2 separate regions of the Homo sapiens genome follow, and region 1 is linked to region 2. Evidence: promoter capture Hi-C in 16 types of primary human blood cells and fetal thymus (Javierre and others, 2016). All regions are on one chromosome and are shown on one strand. The core of a region is centred on a gene start or on the middle of the fragment in contact, and the rest is flanking DNA. Distances in the headings are between cores, read along the strand shown.

Evidence for each region. The method cuts DNA at HindIII sites, captures the fragments that hold promoters and counts their contacts. A CHiCAGO score of 5 or more calls a contact.
Region 1: a fragment that was not itself captured here is called in contact with the fragment with the promoter of LPCAT1 in region 2 in 1 of 17 cell types (neutrophils); the score reaches 5.9 in neutrophils.

The regions. Positions count from the first base shown.
Region 1 is chr5:443,759-447,283 of GRCh38, reverse strand. It overlaps EXOC3 (exocyst complex component 3), which reads right to left. Exons shown (of 13, transcript NM_007277.5): 2 at 935-1,134. The coding sequence starts at 1,078. LOC124900930 (a long non-coding RNA gene) reads right to left here and starts at 463. Exons shown (of 2, transcript XR_007058671.1): 1 at 76-463. RefSeq lists enhancers at 183-262, 3,444-3,525. The HindIII fragment of the contact is 2,637 bases long and covers 728-3,364 here.
Region 2 is chr5:1,522,406-1,525,914 of GRCh38, reverse strand. LPCAT1 (lysophosphatidylcholine acyltransferase 1) reads left to right here and starts at 1,955. Exons shown (of 14, transcript NM_024830.5): 1 at 1,955-2,205. The coding sequence starts at 2,071. RefSeq lists a cis regulatory region at 563-798 and silencers at 1,568-1,967, 1,988-2,297, 2,568-2,767. The HindIII fragment of the contact is 5,602 bases long and covers 1-3,509 here.

The DNA of each region.
Region 1 (3,525 bases), core at 797-3,296, 1.1 Mb after region 2:
TCCTCATCTAGCCTCACACCTGGTGATCCTGGACACTACCACGGGTCTGCCCTGGGCCGTGGCCTGCTACGGTACCTTCAGAAGGATGTCACCCATGCTCTCCCAGGCATCCTAGGTTCCTAAAAGGTCTTGTCTAGGCAGAGAGAACGGTCAGGACTTCACTGGCTTGGGGTGGGGGAGTTCCTGCTGTTCAGCCAGCACCACACTTGGCCCCAGGACGGCTGACCCACAGGACAGAATCGGCACCTGAGCTTCAGATCCGCTCTCTGTCAAATGTGAGTTAAAACAATCTGAACAAAATGCCCTCTAGTGGTGCTCTGTAGAAGAGCTTTAAATAAGACTACTTCTCCTTCCTCCAGTATTGTTTAAAAACTTAATAGACACTTTCAGGGTGTTGTTTTTGTTTCTGTGTTTTTTTTTTCTTTTTGAGACAGAGTCTCACTCTGTTGCCCAGGCTGGAATGCAATGGCACCATCTCGGCTCACCGCAACCTCTGCCTCCTGGGTTCAAGCGATTCTCTTGCCTCAGCCTCCCAAGTAGCTGGGATTACAGGCGTCAACCATCATGCCTGGCTAATTTTTGTATTTTCATAGAGACAGGGTTTCACCATGTTGACCAGGCTGGTCTTGAACTCCTGACCTCAGGTGATCCGCCTGCCTCGGCCTCCCCGAGGTGCTGGGATTACAGGCATGAGTCACCGCACCCGGCCTCAGGGTGTTTAAAAGCTTGTTCCTTTGGTGTTTTCACCATTCCCACTGTCTTCTAAGCAAAGCTACTGAGTGGTAATACACTGCTGAAAGTAACTGCTCAAGAAAGTCCAGCTCTGCCTCCTTGCACATTACCATAAAGGCTAGTTTAGCAAAATCATCATGGTGATGTCAAGCAAGAACCTGAAGCCCAAGACAGATCCTGGGAGTGGGGCAGGTGGCCTCACCTTCAATCTGGCCTCCACGGAGGCCTTCTTCCGCGCTTCTCTCCTGCGATACTGCTCCACCTTGTCCAGCTGGTCCGGGCGCTGGAGCATCCCAGCAACCCTTTGCACTGCTGTCGCAACGGCCTCCCGGTCTGTCTCCTTCATGGTGAAAAAGCTGGTGGAATCCTCACACTGTTCATGCTAGGGGTGTTCTCTGTGCACTGCAGGAGTTGTTAGGACGGTAGAAATGTTAGGTACAAAACCTCCCCCAAACTATCAGGTGATCACAGTGGAGCTACAAGCAGAGCCTCTGAGATCATTAATCCAGGAAACCTCAAAGAAAGCTGAACTAGGATGAGGAACTCCTTGATAAGATAAACAAACCTTCGTAACACAAACATGCAGAAGTTATACCTTTAAGGGGAGAGCAGGGGCGTTTCACAGGCATGAGAGACATGGACATTGCGAAGATTCTAGATGTGGGTCCCAGACCACCCAGCATGTAGATGTCAGCCTCAAAGGCACATCTCTCCCCAAGACAGGGCTGGTTTCTCATTTCGGGAGCTTTCCCCCAGCACCTTGGCCAGGCCTGTGGGCAGCTGCACCAGGACCCTCAGTGAAGACAAATACAGCGTGGACAACTCCCCCGACCAGGTACCACAGCTGGAGGCCCAGCACAAGCCCCACAATTCCCACCCTATAAAAGTGACAATAGTCAGCCAGGCCCGGTGGCTCACGCCTGTAATCCCAGCACTTTGGCAGGCCGAGGCGGGTGGATCACGAGGTCAGGAGATCGAGACCATCCTGGCTAACATGGTGAAACCCTGTATCTACTAAAAATACACACAAAAAAATTAGCTGGGCATGTTGGTGGGTGCCTGTAGTCCCAGCTACTCGGGAGGCTGAGGCAGGAGACTGGCGTGAACCCCGGAGGCGGAGCTTGCAGTCAGCCGAGATCGCGCCACTGCACTCCAGCCTGGGCGACAGAGCGAGACTCCGTCTCAAAAAAAAAAAAAAGAAAAAAAAAGAAAAAGTCATTATTGTCTTGGGTATCCAAAACCCCATTTCCCCCTTTTTTAACTGTCCTAGAAAACATCATGCTTCCCTCCTTTATGCAGGCCCCGTGCAGACCACAGGTGCTCAGATGCCAGGCAAGCCTGCCTTCCATGCTCCCTCCACCATCGTCCTCCTCGGGGAGCTAACACAGCTGCTTGGTGAGCATCAGTCAATGAGGGAATCCGATACACCTGTTCCCCTTGACTTCAGCTGTCTGATTTTCATCTTCATGAATATTAAAAAGATTCACCTTCTCCTGGAATTTTTCATTCTCCATGCCCACATGCTTTCAGACACCTCTCTTCTCCTTTTTCATCTGGACCTACATTGCAACCTTTCCTTTCTCTTTATTTTCTGATTATGAAATTTGGCATACCAACGTAGAAAATCTGGACAGGACAAAAATACAAAGATGCCAGAGGCAACTCCCCTTAAATCCCATCATCTATGGGCAACTCCTCTTAAATCTTGCTACCCAGGGGCAACTTCCCTTAAATCTCACAATCCAGGGACAACTTCCCGTAAATCCCACCACTCAGGGGTAACCCCCGCTATATCCCACCACTCAGGGGCAACTCCCCTTAAATCCCGCCACCCAGGGACAACTCCCCTTAAATCCCGACACTCAGGGGCAACTCCCTCCAACAGGGCTTGTTTCCTTCCAGTTTTTTCCCTTTGAGTTTCTTTTAAAGCTAAGATTCCACTGCTTATATGACTTTGTAGGTGCACACTTTTGTTTTCTTATTTTGTTTGGACATTATCATCAGCATTTCCATTGACATTAAAGCCTGTATGATTTTGATTATAGGGCTGGATAATAACCCAAGAAGTGGACCCCCAGCCGCTCTGCTGGGGCACGCGGTGAGGTGGCTGCGCCCATCTTAAGGCTGGAGTGAAGTCTGTCACGCTGTGGGTGGAAGCCAAGGCAATGTGAGTGGAGAGCTGTGAAGCAGGGCTCGCCTTGGAGTCAGAATAAAGCTACTCATGTGGAAAAGGGGAAAATCTGGAGTTAAAAAACGCACCGCAGAGGCTTCCATCCCAGCCTGAAGACTAAAGATTTTGGGTCACAGAAGCCAAAGAGGAACTCAGAGACCATAAACAGAGACCCAGGTCCAGCCCCTACCAGGGCCTTTCTGACTGCCTTCCCCTGGCGCTGGCTCCGCTGTGAGCCTCTCCGCCGAGCGGGGGGACACCCTACTGCGGGGAACATCAGCACCCACGGAGACACCTGCGCCAGGGAGACACCTCTGCCGGGCAGACACCTCTGCCAGGAGGGACCCTTTACCGGGGGGACGCCTGCGCCGAGGGGAACACCTGTGCTGGGAGGCACCTCACGGAGGGGACACTCCGCTGGAGGACACCTGCACCTTGGAGGACACCTGCACCTTGAAAGCTTCCTAAAGGCCAGGAAGGACGCTTGTGCCCAGAAGGACACCTGCTCCGACGAGGGACACCTGGTCCGAGGGGGGACACCTGTGCCAGGAAGGACAACTGCGCCTGGGGGGGGACACCGTCAAGAGGACACCTGCACCAGGAAGTACACTTGTGCCTGGGAG
Region 2 (3,509 bases), core at 706-3,205:
TGGCCTTCCCATGGAGCTCTCTCTGTGTCTGTCTCTGAGACCGAATCTCCCTCTCTATAGGGACACAAGCCATTTCAGACTAGGGCCCACCCTAATGACTTCCTCTTAACCTGATCATCTGCAAAGACCCTGTTTCCAAATAAGGTCGCGGCCACAGGTGCTGTGGGTTAGGACTTTTGCATCTTCTGGGGACACAGCCATGACTCTCTGGCAGCTCTCCCCATTGAATCTGGCTCTGCACCATCTCCAGCAGGTTTCCCCTCCGCCACACACCGCTTCCTGGCCTGTGCTTCTGGGAGGACCCCACTTTCATGGCTCTCCAAGTCCAGTCCTGAGGCTGCTCTCATCCCAGGACTGGGACACCCTAGGGCCCCTCCTCTCCAGAGCACTCAGGCAGCAGGTGGGGCCGCCTGGATCGCTGGGGTGCAGGTGCTGCCCTGTGGCTGGCAGGCTTTGTGTCCTGGGCTTTCTTGATGATCAGTTCGGTGAGGAGCCTTGGGTGGCCTCGGGTGCTGGGCTCTGGTTTTGGGGATCAGAGCAAGTGGCCACTAAAAGCCCAGGAGGTGGGTGCAACGCTGGTGGCTGGGCCACAGAGCCACCAATGCCCACCAGCACACAGGGCTCACCCCATCCCCGTGGGTGTGGCACTTGGGACAGGTGCTGCTGCTAGGCATGGGCTGGGACTCTTATGGGGCAGGAATATGGGCTGGGACTCTTATGGGGCAGGAATAAGGCCATGCAGCGGGTCTGGCCTGCCGGGGCCTTCTCTGTGCATGATATGTGGATGGCACAGACCCCTGGCCCTCACCCCGGTCTCAGACACAGAAGGGTCTCTGCCAGCCCGCTGCACTATGAGGTCCACAAGGGCGCAGGCAGGGTCATTGGAGGGGTCGGGGCACTCCCTGGCGTCTGCTGAGGATGGGGCCCAGCTGGGGCCAACACAGCAGTGACATCCCCAGGAGCCAGGACCCTGGGGGGTTGGCCAGGTGGCCCAAACCGGCTCTGTCTGGGTGAGGTCCGTTGGCCATGAAGGAACCAACAGGGCCAGCCGGGGTGAGGAAGCCGTGAGCACTGTGACCGAAGGCCTGCGTGAGTTCTGAAATCCAAGCGTGTTCACCCGGAGGCAGGAGCCCATCCTACTCTCGCTCCGGCTAATTATGGGCCCCACCCTGGGGCTCCTCACACGGCTCCTGAGCACCACAAGGGCAATGCCCGAGCCAAAGCAGCTACGGGTGAGAAAGCGCTGGGATCTCATCGCAGCCCCTGCACAACCAGCACGGACAGTCAGGGCCCCTATGTGCGCCTCCTGCCTGGGCCATCCCTGCGGGGCCTGAGGCCTGAGAGGTCCTGAGATCGGAGGGGTCCTGAGGTCTGAGGGGGTCCTGAGGCTTGAGGGGTCCTGAGATCTGAGGGGATCCCGAGGTCTGGGGGGTCCTAAGGTCGAGTGGACCTCAGGCGGGAGTCGCCTGGGCTGAGGCGCGGCTGGAAGAAGCTCCCTCAGCCCGGGGCAGCTTCCAGGGTCGCCGGTGCGAGCTAGGAGCCCAACGAATAAGAAGAATGGCGTGGGGCCTTCGCCGGAACAGCCCGGGGCTCGGCACCCAGGGCCTGGCCCGCCTTGCGCGTAAGCTGGACGCGTGCCCGCCCCTTCCTCCCTCCCCGCGAGCAGGCGGGCCGAGCGGCGGAAGGGGACGACGTGGCAGCCTCGCGGGCCCGGGGGACCTCCCTTTCTCCTGGCGCAGACCCTGCCGGGGATCCCTGTGCTCCAGTGGCTGCAGGAGGCGCCCCCGGTCCCCAGCGGCCCCGGCCCCCCACAGACCCCAGAGAAACCACCAGGTAGCGGAACTCCGGCTGGTGCCGCCCCTGCCGGCCGGCGGGAGGCGAGGCTTCCAGGGACGCCCCGCCCCGGCCGGCGCTCCCGCTCCGCCCACGTCACCTCCCGCGCCTGCGCGCCCGGCCCGCTCCAGCCGCCGCGCATCCTCGGCCCGCGCCCCGAGACCCGCGCCCAGCTAGCCCCGGCCCCGCTCGGCGCCCCAGGCAGCTCGGCTGCGCTCGCCGCGGGACGGCGCGGCCATGAGGCTGCGGGGATGCGGACCCCGGGCCGCCCCTGCCTCCAGCGCAGGGGCCAGCGACGCTCGGCTGCTGGCGCCCCCGGGGCGGAACCCCTTCGTGCACGAGCTGCGCCTCAGCGCCCTGCAGAAGGCCCAGGTGGGTGCCCAGGGCGCGCGGCCCCGGGAGCCGGCGCGGACGCCAGGGATGCTGGGGCCAGGGAGGCGCGGCCGAGGAGGGGCCGGGGAGGGGGCCTGGGGCGCGGCGCGGCCCTGCGAGCCGCGGCGCCTTCCCTCCCCGCGGCCGCCCCTCAGTTCGCGTCCCCGCCGCCCGCACCCGATGCCTCGGTCTCGGCGCCGGCTTCCCGCCGCCCGCACGCGCATCCTGGTCCCTCAGCGCCTTCCTCGGGGTCCCCGCTTCCCATCCCCGCCCCGCGTTCTGCTCCTCCCCCCAGACCCCTGCACCCTGAACCGGGCCCACAACCCTTTCTCTGCCTCCCAGAGCCCCGACCTCGGCTCCCGCGGGAGGCTGGACCCGCATCGCCGGTCCCCGCGCTCGTCCCTGGTCCGGGCCCCGCCCGCCTTGGCAGGCCCTGCGCGCAGCCCGGGGACTCCGGAGCGGCTTTGCCTGGACGCGGCCCGCGGGCGGGAGGGCACCGCGGCTCTGGGTGAGCCTCGTGTGCGGGGCCTGGTGGTGCCCGGGACAGGGCGCGCGGGCGGTGCGGGTCCCCTGTAGGGTCCCCTGTAGGCGCACGGGTCTCCCTGCTCTGCGGCCGCACGTTGCCTTCTGGGGTGCATGCTTCGCTCCTGTTGTAAGGGATGCTTTCTCGGGGCTGGTCTGACCCGAATCAACTTTATGCAACCTGGGCTGCCACGTGGGAGGGAACGGTTTGCTGAGATCCTGCGATGGGACAGTGGTGAGGGGAGACCCGGGGGCGTCGTGGGGAGGGGGCCGCTCGCTGCAGGAAGCTGCACCGGGGATGTGCTGGCTCAGCCTGGCTTTTCCGGCTACCTGGCTGCCAGCTGGGCTTACAGTTACCTGAGATCCACTCTCAAGAGGACCTTACTTTTGACTCTAGAATAATTCCTAGAAGCAAGCACTGTTTCGGGGCCTATGGGGCTGTCCGGTTTGTAGGGAGCACGCTTCCAATTGTGAGAATAGATTTCCGGGAAGATGGAGATTTGTTAATGCATAAAGTACTTTATCTGAAAGAACCCTGAAGTGAAAAGTTCTTGAGGCCAGTTTGAGCTTGTCATTTTCCCAGGACGCCTGCTTTTGCTCAAAGCCCCTTGATGCGGCTGGTCCTCAGGGTATGGAAGGGGACGGGGAGCAGGAGAGCCCGATGGTGCCGCCCCTCCTGGTGACACACAGGGTGAGGTCGTCCCCAGCCTGGCTCCCAGGCCCTGGCCCCCGTCTCCCTGTGTGTCGGGAGCTGGACTCTGGGGCTGGGGCGGTGCCGGCCC